2 separate regions of the Homo sapiens genome follow, and region 1 is linked to region 2. The links are contacts of gene promoters, found by promoter capture Hi-C in blood cells and fetal thymus (Javierre and others, 2016). All regions are on one chromosome and are shown on one strand. The core of a region is centred on a gene start or on the middle of the fragment in contact, and the rest is flanking DNA. Distances in the headings are between cores, read along the strand shown.

Evidence for each region. The method cuts DNA at HindIII sites, captures the fragments that hold promoters and counts their contacts. A CHiCAGO score of 5 or more calls a contact.
Region 1: a fragment that was not itself captured here is called in contact with the fragment with the promoter of ARGLU1 in region 2 in 1 of 17 cell types (fetal thymus); the score reaches 5.4 in fetal thymus.

What each region holds. Positions count from the first base shown.
Region 1 is chr13:104,561,769-104,569,346 of GRCh38, reverse strand. No RefSeq gene overlaps it. Among named protein-coding and RNA genes, the nearest start is that of DAOA, 900 kb to the left of the region's middle. The HindIII fragment of the contact is 1,283 bases long and covers 2,462-3,744 here.
Region 2 is chr13:106,564,195-106,571,512 of GRCh38, reverse strand. ARGLU1 (arginine and glutamate rich 1) reads left to right here and starts at 3,376. Exons shown (of 4, transcript NM_018011.4): 1 at 3,376-3,940. The coding sequence starts at 3,594. RefSeq lists enhancers at 3,235-3,304, 3,315-3,434, 3,110-4,020 and a silencer at 3,915-4,214. The HindIII fragment of the contact is 1,462 bases long and covers 2,662-4,123 here.

The sequences.
Region 1 (7,578 bases), core at 1,854-4,353, 2.0 Mb after region 2:
TTTCCTGCCACTTAGAATTTGAAAAGAGTGATTCTAAACCTAAGGGCTTAAGGGAGACGACAGAGTTAGCAGGTGTAAACGGGACTGAGGGGATGCTAAAGAGAGAAGTGGGGAAAAAGGAGGAGGCAATCTTGGAGGAAACTGGAACTTACAGTCAAGTGGCCAGAAATAGTATCTCTGTAGAGGACTAGCTGATTAGCTTTTGAGAACTTGCATAGGATACTGTATGCAACCAATTGATAATAGAGAGGGTATTCCATTTTTAAATAAATTTTAAAAGATTTCCCTCTCCTGTCTTTGAGCTGTAAATTTGAGTTCTGTGCTAGGGAAGGTGCAACAGAAGAAAACAGCTGAAGATAAACTTTGAGACAGACGTGACCTTGCATATATAAACATTTGGGAAGTTTTGTAATTTTTGAGCTGGGCAATGGGCTTTTTTCCAAGATTTGAGGTAGCTGGTGGTTTATTTCAAATGTATCTAAATCCATGGGACTTGGAAGTCATTGCTGGTAACTGGATAATTAAGGATTTGGTAATTTAGACACTGTAGATATTTCAAATTAAAACAGAATCAATTTATTATTATATTAACTATAAAAGGGCATCCCTACCTACCCCAAAACACGCAACACACAACACACACACACAATCCTATACATTGACTTGATGGGAAATGGTTTGCTCTTCTCTCAGATGGGGAAAGATTCTATAAAACATATTCCTGTTTTACAAGGGAGATCAAACTGATTATTTTCCCTGTAAGTACTTTTTATACATAATCAGACACATCAATAAAAATGAAAAGGTATTTAAGAAATTATGTGTCCCAACCTCCTCATTTCAAAGACGAGAAATCAAAAGCCCAGGGAACTCTACATAACACGTTGGTGCAGGTTTGAGAGTTTAACAGGCTTGTACAGTTAGACACGTGGCCTGCTTTAAATTGATGTTGATGTATCATTTTGATGCTTTTAATTTTTGTGGGAAATGCAATAGCATTATCCAATATAAACTTACTTTTAACTGCAAATAAAATTTAACTAGTTTCTCGCCAATGTTCACCTTAAAAGTAGAGTCTCTTTTTCACAGTAACATAGAGAATATACACTCAGATGCGTACACCTAATCACACAACTACCCACCTATATTCCACCTCTTCTGTCCAACTGTAATGATCTCATTAAAGTAGGATAGGAAGAAAAACTCACAAGAGATCTCAAAGTTTCATGCTCTAGATGAATCGTGATGGATAAAATCTCAAGGACATACAATAAAATAACTGGGAAAATGTAGGCAAAGCTTTGTGAAAGTATCTCTAGAGTTGTTGCAAAAAATAAAGTAAAAAGATTTCTCTTACTTACTCCCCATGGCAAAAGGCCCCTCCCTCCTGCTCCGCTTCTGTCCATGCTTCCATAATTTTCACAAGAGCCAGTCTTTCATAGTCTATGTCCATCGCTTACAAACTTCCCATTCCAACTTCCTATTTTCAACAATATGTCACATTCTGTTTACTTTCTAAAACAAAACACCAAAACCAAAAAGACAAAACAAATGAAAACACTCTTTCTCTTTTTTACTAGTGCAACTTCAAATCAAGTCTTTTATCCTTAAACCTGAAATATCCCACTAGACTTCCAACTCTCACACCTATCTCTAGATTCTTTCCTCTGTTGTCTTATTCACTATTAATTCATGTGCTTACTGCAATGTCTGAAACATAGTAGGGGAAAAATAACTATTTTCTTAACATATCATGTGATTTTGCATACCGTTGCCTGGCTAATTTACCAGAATTTCCCTATTAAAAGTGTAGGGCTTAAAAACCTTTCATTATTGCCCACGGTAGATATAGTATACTTTTTAAAAATCTTTAATTGTTACTGTCTCTTCTCTTGTCTTGTCAATCTGGCCTCAGTGTACCTTTCTCCTCCTTCGTACACATGCCCTCAAGCCTAGTTTCTGTAGCTATCGTGGATGATGTCAGCTTTGTGCCTGAGGAATGCCCTCCCTACCCTACCCAGCCTGGGTCTGGTCTTATCACCTCCATCAAAACAACCTGCTGCAATGATGTCTCAGCTCAGCTCACTGCAGCTGAATTCATTCTCTCCACACCCTTCTCCACAACTGGCTTCCTCGCCTCTATCTCCTTCCTCAACGATGATACCACTCCCTCTCAATCAAAAGACAAGGAGTGGGCTCATTTCATTTCTCCCCATCTGCCCAAATCCAATCATTCACTAATGCAGCTATGCTGTTTTGACTTCCTTAAATTCCACTTTTGACAAATTTTACATTAATTCCCCTCTCACTTCAGGGACTAGACTGCTGCCTGGAAGATCACTCTGCCCATCAGCTTTGCTCACTCAGGGCCTTTTCCTCCACAGCCTGGCACTATGTGGAGCCCTGTGAAGTGACAGTAAGAAAAAGAATCATAGCTCTGCCCATCAAAACCATAAAAGCTTTCATCAAGGAAGACAACCAGGTTTACTAGTGAATGCTATTCAGGGCCTATCCAACAACAATCATCTAAGTTTTCTTCCGTCCTAACAGAGTCCTAATTTTTCTCAATCAAAGTACCCTTCATGCCAATCATGTCATTTTCTACATCTAGGTGGAGCGTCGATATTCATCAATTTATATGTTGAATGTTTTCTTCAGTTCATAATACATTTCTAAATGACAATTTTTGTGTAGGCTATGATTACAATTTTAACACCTGGAGGCAAAGGTATTATGATATAATGAAAAAGAGGGAATTGGAAACGCCTCCTCTGCCTCAGGAGAATTTTTAGTTAGATTGCACACCCCAAAAGGTGTATAACTCACATAAAGCTAATCAGTGACTTATAAAAATTAGATAGATCTCATGATTTTTTTTACCCTGAAATATTTTAGCAAGCAATTGTCAATATATTTTCTGCCAACTGGTTTCTTTCTTCTTTTTAAACAAACTATTTGATAGAGAAAAGGTTTTTCACACATTTAGGAAAAAAAATCTAAAAGATAGGAAAAATTATTCATTTTTGCTTACTCCAACATCCCCTGAAAAGATATGGCTAGGAATTAGGTGACAGCATTATTTTTAAAACACAAAAGAATAAGAGAACGAGAGATCTCAAATCAGGAGTTCAGATGCTGAATTTGGCAACCTGAGATAAGCAATTTAAATACGAGGAGAGTGACAGTGTGCAGTCTATTCAAAAACTTGCCGATATAAACAAACAAAACATTTCTTCCTTAATCCTAAACAAGGTGCAGAGTTTGTATTTGACAAATATGCTATAAACTGATGGAGTTCATCAAATATTTAAGTCCTACCTGAGCCATTAAAAGTCAAGCAAACAAAATATTTGTCAGTCGTTCAGAACAGAGAGGCATTTATGTATAAAATAGAATCTTATTTCTCTTAGAGCTTTTTTTGTTTGTTTTTTGTTTGTTTGTTTGTTTGTTTGTTTGTTTTTAGACGGAGTCTCGCTCTGTCACCCAGGCTGGAGTGCAATGGCGCGATCTCGGCTCACTACAACCTCCGCCCCCAGGTGCAAGTGATTCTCCTGCCTCAGCCTCCCGAGTAGGTGGGATTACAGGTACCCACCACCATGCCTGGCTAATTTTTGTATTTTTAGTAGAGATGGGGTTTCACCATGTTGGTCAGGCTAGTCTCAAACTCCTGACCTCAGGTGATCCGCCCGCCTTGGCCTCCCAAAGTGCTAGGATTACAGGCGTGATCCAGCTCTCCCAGAAGCTTTTGCAATTTTTAATACTAAGTTTGATCAGGGCATCAAAACACATAGGAGGCCTCCTTTTAGTTTACAAAGAAGAGACATTGTCATATATGTCACCTAAAGCAGTGGTTCCCAACCCCTGGGCTGTGGACGAGTACCAGTCTGTGGCCTGTTAGAAACTGGGGCGCACAGCAGGAGGTGAGCAGTGGGCAAGTGAGCATGACTGCCTGAGCTCGGCCTCCTGCCAGATCAGCGGGCATTAGCTTCTCATAGGAGCAGGAATCCTATTGTGAACTGTGCAGGGGAGGAATATAGGTTGTGGGCTCCTTATGAGAATGTAATGCCCAGTGATCTGAGGTGGAACAGTTTCATCTTGAAATCATCCCTTCCCATTCCTCCTCACTGATGGAAAAACTGTCTTCCATGAAACTGGTCCCTGGTGCCAAAAACGTTGGGGACCACTGCCCTAAAGCACTGTGCTCCGTGACTCTGTATATGTGTGTGACTGTGAGCCTGTGTGTGTGTGAGCATATGAGTGTGAGCCTGTGTGTGTGTCTTTGAGCGTGTGTGTCTTTGAGCATGTGTGTGTAGGTGTAAGCCCATGTGCAAGCTTGTATGAACCTGTGTGTGTGAGCATGTGTGAGACTGTAAGTGTGAGCCTTTGTGTGAGTCTGTGAGCATGTGTGTGTGTTCAAGTATGGGTCCATGTGGCCATGAGCATGTGTGTGAGTGTGCAAGTGTAACCTCATGTGCAAGCCTGTGTGATCCTGTGTGTGAGCATGTGTGTGTGTAAGCCTGTGTGTGTGAGCCTGTGTGTGCATGCGTGTCTGTGAGGATGTGCGTGAACCTGTGTGCCTGTGTGTGAGCATGTGTGTGTGTGAGAGCACGCATGTGGGTGTGTGAGCTTGTGTGTGGTGTGTGTGAGCATGTTTGTGTATAAATTTGAGCCTGTGAGTATGTGTGAACGTGTGTCTGTGAGCCTGTGTGTAAGCCTGTGTGAGTATGAGTGTTAGCCTGTGTGTGATCATGTGTGTGTGAGTGTGAGCCTGTGTGTGAGCATGTGTGTGAGTCCATGTGTGGTGAGACTTTTTAACAGTGTATAGGTATTTAAGAGATTGTTTTCTGAGGCCAGAGCTCAGTAACAACAGATGGTTGGTAACTGCTGAGACAGGAGACGCTAATAGACATGACCAAAGCAGAAATAAGCAGAGGATCAGCCCAGCTTGGCTATGGCTGTGAACACTATCATCACTCTTACTGTATGGTGACCTCCCATTAGGAATGGTCAGAGAGTAGAATAAATTCGAATCTTTGTCCCATTTCTGTCACCTTCAGCAGCTTTCATGGGGTTGGTATCACTTACCCTGAGCTCTGGGTGGTGCCACAAGAGTTTTGGACGAGGTGACTGTTTTCAGCACTGTTGGAACCCACTACTGTGCTCCCTTTTTATATGTCATCATTTAATTGGTGCTGTGTCAAATGCCAAGGAAGAGGTTGTACAGAGAAGATAAGTGGAAATGTAGAGACCTGGGCTCCGGCCTCAATCTGGATGTGCATTAATTGTGGGGCTTTGTCTCTTTTATGGAATCACAGCATTTTAAACTAGTGGCATTTATAAGATGATTCTTTTTCTCTAACTTCAACATTTTTCAAATAAGTAATGGATACACATTGCTTGCTGTTGGATATTCAGAAAAAAAAAGAAAAGAAATGAATACCCAGGGAGGCTGAGTGACATAGCCCAGCTCGCCCATCTTGTGTGCAGTGGAACCTGGTTCTGTCTCCCCAAGTAAGTAGGTTGGAACAGAAGCGGGGCACTTACCTGGCTCTGGGTCCCTGTCCCTGGGAACCATGACTGTGAATAGCATAGCCACACGTATCAATTTACAGCAGTGTGTAATAGCCAAATGTAACAGAGTTCCTTTGAAAGCTCTCATCCAAGAGAGGCAGTTAGAAAAAGCAAAGCATGGTTTGAGGAATCAAGATGATGGCACAAACAGAAATTAAAACATCAAAAAATGTGAAGAGTTGACATTAGAAAACTGATGTACATTAGAAATAATAAGACTTGTGTTGGGCATCTTGCATAGTTATTATGAGATAAAATTAAGTCACACTTAGGAATACTTTTTGAAATTAAAAATGTATGCAAGTAAAAGCATTACTATTAATACTGAAAAAATGCAAATTTTTAATTATAAAATATCTATGTACAAATTGTACATTCCCTTAAATACTTACTTTAAATTGGTAAAATGCCTTTAAATACAGAATCACACTGCTATGGATGAAGTTCTTAAATTTTACATTACTTTATCTTTTCCTTCCAGTTTGATGCCCTTAAAAAGAGAAAAGCCCAGAAGAATCTCATAATACATAGGAGTCTATATTAGAAACTGCAAGGATAAAGAAACTTGGTTTTATATACAATGGTATTTTTCACATTATTTCTGTATCACACCAAGAAGATTTTATATCAACATTTATTTAACATGCTATTCTCTATCTAAAATATTTGGATGTAAAAATGGGTTAATTCAAATATAATTCCCATCACAGCTCTTTTACAAAAATGTGAAACAGAAGCAGCACTTGAGCAACAAAAACTACATTCTAAGAAAACATATTTGTAAAAGTACTAGCAGAAAAGAAAGAGATTGATGCCTATAGTGAAATAAGTATGGAAAAAATTATTCTTAATGAGATCATCATGCTCTTTGGCATACACACGCATGCTACGTATTAATTCTGAGGCCTATAATACAAGGCTTTTTTTTCTGTTTTTTTTTTTTCTTTTTTAAGAGAAAATATTGAGGGCATATTGAACCGCTACTCCTCTTTCCTGTGCCTTTGTCCTTCCCTAATGGTAAAAGTTGGCTAAGTATGGATTAAGTGCTTGAAGAAAGTGGTACACTTAAATCCAGCATTCCTATTACTGAGAGATCTTATATCAGTTAAGCATCTTCTTTCATGAATTACAAGAGGAAAATAAGTAGATAATATTCACAGTGATTTAGGATAGATTAGAAATTCCTCTTACTAGCTTATGGATAAATTCATGTGAAGAGCAAATCATTATATAACAAGGAGGTTTAGTCTGGAGAGAAGATGTAAAGGCCAAATGAGTGGCTCTGTCACTGGTTGCAGCCATTTGTACTGCTGAGACCTCCCAGAGAGGAGGGCAGAGGGATTCACAGAGTCATTTCCCATCCCAAGAGAAATAGCCTTGCTTCTCATACTATCCTCTTATTTTTCCTTCAAAAAAAAAGAAAAGAAAAGAAAAGCAATATGTAGCATTATATAAGCTGTACATCTTCTTTCAGGATGCAAATGATTGCCACTATTTAAAAATATTATCTAATATTGCTCGAGTCTCAATCATATCACCTCAAATTACTGAGTAGGCATCACAAGTCAAATACCAGCCTATGCATGTGGCATGAACCATCTCAATTGTCCTGCATTAAAAACTTCAGCACCAGGCAATCTTATTATCACCTTTTTACAAATGAAGAAATTGAGGCTTAGAGAGATCCACTAGCTATAGCCAACACAAAGCCAGGATTTTAACCTAAGTTGTCTATAAGTGAAGCCCTGTCAACTAACCATTAGGTCCAATACTGAAATTTATTTTCACTCTTTCACTTCATGGTAAGCTGGTGTTAATGAGAAGACCATATACAGTACAATATTGTGATTCATAAAGTCTTCATTTGCCATTTCACTTGAATTCACAATGAATAAAAGTAATTTAAGGTTAATGTAAGAAAAAACTACAAAAGATGATATTTTCTCAAGGAAATTCTATAAAATGAGCTTAAAAAACACCCATTTTAAGCAAGTACACTGGTATTCT
Region 2 (7,318 bases), core at 2,127-4,626:
CAGTGGTCTTATAAGAAGAGGACAGACGTACAGTAAAGATGGAGACAGGGACTAAAAGCCAAGGAATGCCAGCAAGCACCAGGAGCTAAGTGAGAGGCAGTGAACAGATTCTTCTCCAGAGCCTCCAAAGGAACCAACTTTGCTGACATTTGATTTTGGACTGCTGGACTCCAGAACTGTAAGTGAATACATTTCTGTTCATTTAAGACATCAGTCTGTGGTAATTTGTCGGGGCAGCTCTAGAAAATTTATACACTAACTCATTGGAAATAACTATCTTTATCATTAAACAGACATCATTCTGGATTATATATATATGTAATATACATATATATAAACAAAATTCCAGATATATCTATACATCATATCATATATTCACACCATATATGGATATATAAACCATATATATCATTCCCACTGGATAGATAGGTACAGATACGTACAGACAGATGGTTAGATTGACAGAAATATTTCTACTATAATGGGGGTAATTCTATACATTCTATATTAAATGTGATTTTACTTGAACGTATCTGAAGTAAAAGAATAGATCTATCCTTCTATTGCACTGTTTTCCTATTTCTGTCCTAAAATCTTGTTGTTCAGTTTATTCAATTTTGTGTAGGGCAAACAGGTACTGTTTGCTACGGTCTAAATGTTTGTGTGCCCTCCCAAACCCAGATGTTGAAATCTAATCACCAATGTAATGGTATTAGGAGGTGGGGCTGCTGGAAGATGACGGTATTAGGAGGTGGAGCCGCTGGAACACGATGGTATTAGGAGGTGGGGCTGATAGGAGACAAAGGTATTAGGAGGTGGGGCTGCTGGAACATTATGGTATGAGGAGGTGGGGCTGCTGGGAGATGACGGTATGAGGAGGTGGGGCTGCTGGGAGATGACGGTATGAGGAGGTGGGGCTGCTGGGACATGATGGTATGAGGAAGTGGAGCTGCTGGGACAGGATGGTATTAGGAGGCGGGGCTGCCGGGAGACGATGGTATTAGGAGGCGGGGCTGCCGGGAGACGATGGTATTAGGAGGCGGGGCAGCTGGGAGACGATGGTATTAGGAGGTGAGGCTGCTGGCTCTGCCCTCATGAATTGGATTAGTTCCTATCTTAGTCCATTCAGCCTACTATAAGACTACCTCAGACTGGGTCATTTATAAACAGCAGAAATTTATCGCTCAGAGTTCTGGAAGCTGGGAGTCCAAGATTAAGGCACTGGCAGATTCAGTGTCTGGTGAGGCCTCACTCTCTGCTTCATAGATGACACCTTTTTCTATGTCTTCACATGGTAAAGAACGGGTGAACAAGCTTCCTTGGGCCCCTTTTATAAGGGCATTGCTATGGCTTAAATGTATGTGTCTCTCTAGAATTCCTATGTTGGAGCCTAAAATCCACTATAATAACATTAAGAGCTGAAGCCGTTTTGGAAGTGATTAAGAAATGAGGCTCCACCCTCTTGAATGGGAATAGTATCCTTACAAAAGAGGTTGACAGGAGTGTCCTAGTTCCCCCCCCTTTTTTTTTGCCCTTTTGCCTCCCATCCCTTCCCTCATGTGAGGACACAGTGTTCGTCCCCTTCTGTGGACCCAGCAAAACAAGGCACTATCTTGGAAGCAGATAGCAAGCTCTTATCAGACACTGACTCTGCTGGTACCTTTATCTTGGACTTCTTAGCCTTCAGAACTCTGAGAAATAATGTCTATTATTTATAAATCACTCAGTCTAAAGTATTCTGTTATAGCAGTGGAAATGGGCTGAGATAGGCACTAATTCCAGTTATGAGGTTAGAGCCCTCATGACCTAATCAATATCCCAAAGCCCCACCTTTTAATACTATTGCACTGGTGATTAGGTTTCAACATATGAATCTGAGGGAACACAAACTTTCAGACCCTAGAAGTGCCACTAAAAGAGAGCTCAGAGAGCTAGCTTTCCCCTTCTATCATGTGAGGGCACTGTGAGTAGGTGCCTTCTGTGAGTCATCTGTGAATCTCTGGGTCCTCACCAGCGACCAGATTGGCTAGCACCTGGATCCTGGATTTCCAACTTTCAGAACTGTGAGAAATAAATTTGTTGTTCATAAGCTGCCTAGTTTATGATATTTTGTTACAGCAGTCAACACAGACTAATACACTACTCTTCTTTGTTTCCAAGTTTTCTTGATAATTAATTATGTGATCTTCCATATAAAACTTAAAATTAATTAGTTCTAAAACACATATCCCCAAGAGAATTTGGGACTCTCATGAGAATTGCACTAATTTTGTAATTTGACTTGGGAAGAATTGACAGTATTTTTGATACTGACTACTCACCTAAGAATACAGCATGTTTTACATTTACTAGGGCCTTATTACTGCCTTTTCAGTAAAGGTTTATAATAAAGATTGTGTAACTTGTTAAAGTTTATCCCTAAGTATTTTATGGTTTCTGTTGCCATTGTGGAGGAAATATTATTTCATTTTTAATATGTTTTTGCTTATTCAAATAATTCTAATTTTTCTTCTACTTACTTAAGCTTTATTATTGCACTCAATTTTAAAATTGAGGCACCTAGATTTTCAAGGGTTCCTGTCATCTGCAAATATTAACATTGCCTTTTCCTTTTAGGTCTTAACAATGACACAGTTTGTTGTGCCACATAGGGACGAAGCTTTTCGTGGCTAGGGTTGAGGAGGGCTTGCTGGTTATGTGCAAGGGCTTTGCACAATATGATCTAGGTTCACGTCCCTGCTCTGTCACCTACTGGTTGTGTGACCCTTATTTAACCTCTGTGGACCTCAGGGTCCTCATCTCTGAAACGTGGATAATAGTAGTACTTAATTCAGAATTGTAAGAATTAAGCACTTGTTAATACATTAAAGCATTTAGAAGGCACATTAAGCCCTATAGTAAGCATTAGGTTACATTCATCAAAACCTGCTGCCTACTTACCTCCTGCAAGTCTCATAAGCACTTCAGAAAGTGTGGTGTCTCCATTCTACGAATGAGGAAACTAAGTCCAAGGCAGCAAGTGATGAGTGCAGGGTCACTTGGAGATACATTTTAGGGCTGCCCCACAAGACCAGCTCCTAGAAAATAATGCAATCAATCAACTTCTGCGAGGCCGGACTTAAATCCCACTAAAACGTGCTTAATTCATTCAACAGGCGTTGGCATCTTACCAGGGAGGAAAAAAAAAAAAAGAGTACGCCAAGGCGAAAAGGAGAGTCTCCATCTATTGCGTCTCAGGCTTCCGCCAAGACTGGCGGAAAAAAACGAGTCCGCTCCGAAGCGCTCGCCTGCCTTCGGCAAAAATCGTCAGGAGGCGGGGCCCACGCTTCGGCACGTTTCGCGCAGGGCATTGTGGGAAGGGCGGCCGGTGCAGCCGCAGCTGCCATCTTAGGGGCGCCTGGCGCTACGGGTTTCTCGTTGGAGGCGGCCTTCGTGGCAGCTGTAGACGCCGGGAAAAGGCATAAAGTCCGTTGGCCGACACCTTTCTTTCCTCCGGCCTCGGTAGAACCGCCAGCCCGCGTCCGAAGGCGGAGGCGAGGGGAACTGGCCGCGTGAGGGGCCTGAGGCGAGCGGTTAGAGCGTCTCCCGGAAGGATGGGCCGGTCTCGGAGCCGGAGCTCGTCCCGCTCCAAGCACACCAAGAGCAGCAAGCACAACAAGAAGCGCAGCCGGTCCCGGTCGCGATCCCGGGACAAGGAGCGCGTGCGGAAGCGTTCCAAATCTCGGGAAAGTAAACGGAACCGGCGGCGGGAGTCGCGGTCCCGTTCGCGCTCCACCAACACGGCCGTGTCCCGGCGCGAGCGGGACCGGGAGCGCGCCTCGTCCCCGCCCGACCGCATCGACATCTTCGGGCGCACGGTGAGCAAGCGCAGCAGCCTGGACGAGAAGCAGAAGCGAGAGGAGGAGGAGAAGAAAGCGGAGTTCGAGCGGCAGCGAAAAATGTGAGTGCCCGCGCGGGGAGGGACCGGGGCGTGCGGAGAGCAGGGCGCGGGGCGAGGGCGTGGGGCCGGGGCGGGACGGTGCGGGCCGGGAGAATGGCGGGGACGGTCCGGGGCTGGGGACCGGGCGCGGGAACGGGTCGGAGAGGCGGCGGCGGGGCGGGCAGGCTTGGCGTTTGGAAAGCTTGGGGTGGGACAGACCCAGAAGTTGTTCGGGATGGAAAATTCGAGGGCTTGAGCAGAAAGGGTTTAAGAGAAGGCGATTTTGGCGCGAGAGAGGAGTGGTGTCCCGGAAGTAGGGGTGGAGTTCGGAGTGAGGTCGGAGAGCTGCGTTGGCTTGTGAGGCCGGGAGCGAGCCGGCCTGCAGATGTGGAGGGTGGTGAGCGTTTGCTGGTCGGCTTGAGGAGGAGAGAGAAGGGAATTAACCTTTGAGATGCGAATCACAGCTGGCCAGAAGCATTCTATTGAAGCTCAAATTTGGGACAGGACTTAACTAATCTCGGGAATCATACACTTTAGGTGGTCCGCCAGAAAAATGCATTTTCACTTTAGTGTATTCCTGTTGTTAAGGTGTTGGGATTGCTTTTTTCCCCTTGAGCCTACACCCTCACCCCTTCCTTGAGATGTTAAAAAAAAAAAGCATAGACCTTAAGTGTACAGTGCGATGAGTTTTTTGACCTTTGAATTCACCTGTGTAATCACCATCCCAAAGCCTACCGCTTTTTTAACTTGCTTTCTATTCCTGTAGCAAACACGTGCAGTTTTGTTGTTTCCCTTACACTGTGCTTCTTCAGAAGACACTTGAAGGGTTGATTTTATTTTGGCGTTGCTCCCATGAAGGATATTTAGTGAAAACTAGAGTTAGAGTGTGTTTCCGAAAATGTCAGCTCTCAAGTATTTCTGGCTATGAAAGTAGATGTGGATAAATAATCCCAAACTAAAGGAATTTTTGGGTTTTAAAATTTAGGGATTTGTTGTGTGTTTTGCTTTATGATCATCGTACTTTGATGCTCTGGGTATTCAGTTTCCAAAAACCGCATTGAAAAGTAGATTTGAACAGTCCTACTAACTCCCTATTGAACCAGCCGTACTTGGTCAGTTCTTCAGTGAATATTTAGAAAGTGCTCATGAAGCAAGAACGTTACTGAATTTATGATTTTCTCGAGGCGAGTATATGTGTGCTGAATTGACTGCGTGGTTTGTAGTTTTCTGTAGTTGGGTTTGTGTTAGGTAGATTTTCCAGCACACACACACAGCTTGTTTCTAAAACCAAAGTTACTAAAAGGTAGGACTGGAGCACTAATATTACAGAGGAAGCTGTACCTGGAGCTGTTTTGCTTCCAACACTCCTTTAAAACACATGCAACACTCATTTTTCCTGTACTTAGAACTGTCAGTGATACATATGAAAACAAAGTTCAAGTAATCGTTTCAAATTAAACCTTGATTTTGTAGAATACAACTTTTGGGTCTGCAACAAGGCCCTTAGCTGTAAAGATCTCAAATAGCTATCAACAGATGGATGTATGAAAAGTTACCTAAGACATTGCTGAGATAATTTCTACATGTGAAAACAAAGGAGACCTCCAAAGAGTAATAACTTGCCTTTCACTAGAAAGCTAAGATATGTAGGAAAAATGAAAAGAAACTTGGTATGCAAAGAATAAATAGAAGCATTTAGCAGGTTTCGCATGTATAGCAGACAAGAAATTCAGGAATGAAATACGGCAAATAGAGGAGCTATATGGTTCTCTGGTTTGAGAGAAGACACAAACTGCCAATAGTATTTAGGAGGGAGAAGGGACCAGGACTAGCAGCCACCTGTACTCTAAATTCCTGGGTGCCGTACAATAGGCATTTTATTTAATATATTCTAATGTCTTGGAAACAATGCAAAAGAAACAATGGAAAGACTTAAGTGTTGGAGCTTTGGCAGTGTAAGGAAACAGTTTGCAGTCTACATATCCTGTTGGTTATTTTATTCATTTAACTGATGTTTATTGAGCATTTAATAAGTGCCAGGCACTGTGCTAGGTACTGTTAATATAAAGATGATTGGCCCTTCTCCAAGAGCTTGATCTAGCTCAAAGACAGATCATTAAATAGGCAATAATACAGTGTAGTAAATTTAGTGACAGTAATATAAACTGTATAAAGGAAGTATCCTGTGTGGGTGGAGGATATAAGAATATGACAATGTCAGGCAAGGTATAGGACATATGTGGAGCACAGAAAAGAGCCTCCTCCCCCGACTCCTGCCAAAATAGAGGAAATGGTCTTAAAAGTGGAATGATCAGGTGACTGTTGACTTAGAACACGAAGTTCTATAAATATTTAAGTCATGGAGTGACTGGAGAGGTAAATAGAGGCTGGGAATCATGTTAGGGTTATTGTATGTCATATTAAAGAGCTTGGATTGCATCCTAGAAACGGGAAGGATTTTAAGCAGGTGAATGACATGGTGCCTTTTTTGTTTTGATTGTTGTGTAGGATGGAAACTAAGAGGTGGGTACAGAAGTTTACACAGGAGTAGTGAGGATGGTTGTTGGAATGGAAAAGAGGGACAGATTTAAGAAACATTCAGGGTATATTAAATGGAATGTGGGACTTCAGAAAAAGAATGTTGGTTCTCATGTTTATAGTGTGGCTGTTGCAACTCATCTACCAAATGTTTCAGTAACAACCATGTGGCAGGTACTGGTAAAAATGTCAGAAACTTTTTAAATAGTGGATAAGGGAGAGGGAAAGGGGATAAGAGAATGGTGCCTTCACTGTGAGCACTAGTTTTGGATATACTGTACTGAGTTTATCCAGACTTGATCATGTGAGACTGAAGCCTAGCTGAGAGGGGCTTCGCTGAATGTCGTGAAACCTTGAGAGTATATGGAATGACCCAGGGAGAGTGTGGAGAGAGGAGAGCGGTTCATTCAAGGGACTGAAAGAACCTTAGGACATGCCTGTATTTGCAGTTAGGAAGAGGGAGAAGAGCCTATGGTGGAAGCAGAAAGAAATATGGTAAAAATGCATAGTGTCAAGTGCCCTTACAAGAAATCTAGTTAGATGGAAAGAGACCGTAAAATAAGAATCAACCATTGGGTTTAACTAATTAGGAATTCTTTGGTAAGATTGGAAACCTTATTGGTTTACCACTTATAATTCTGAGTTGCTGAATAAATCACCTCCCTCTAACCTTGTTTTTAAATCTGTGAAATGGAGATAATCTGTCTTGCTTGTTGTGAAAATTGGAGATGATGTATTTAAAGTAGGTGATACTTGGCATGTAATAGCTCTCAATAAGTAATGTTATTTAATGTAACTAACTTACATGGAGCCAGACCGAGCCTGATGAATTTCAGAAGTGATCTTATGAGTTGTCATCTT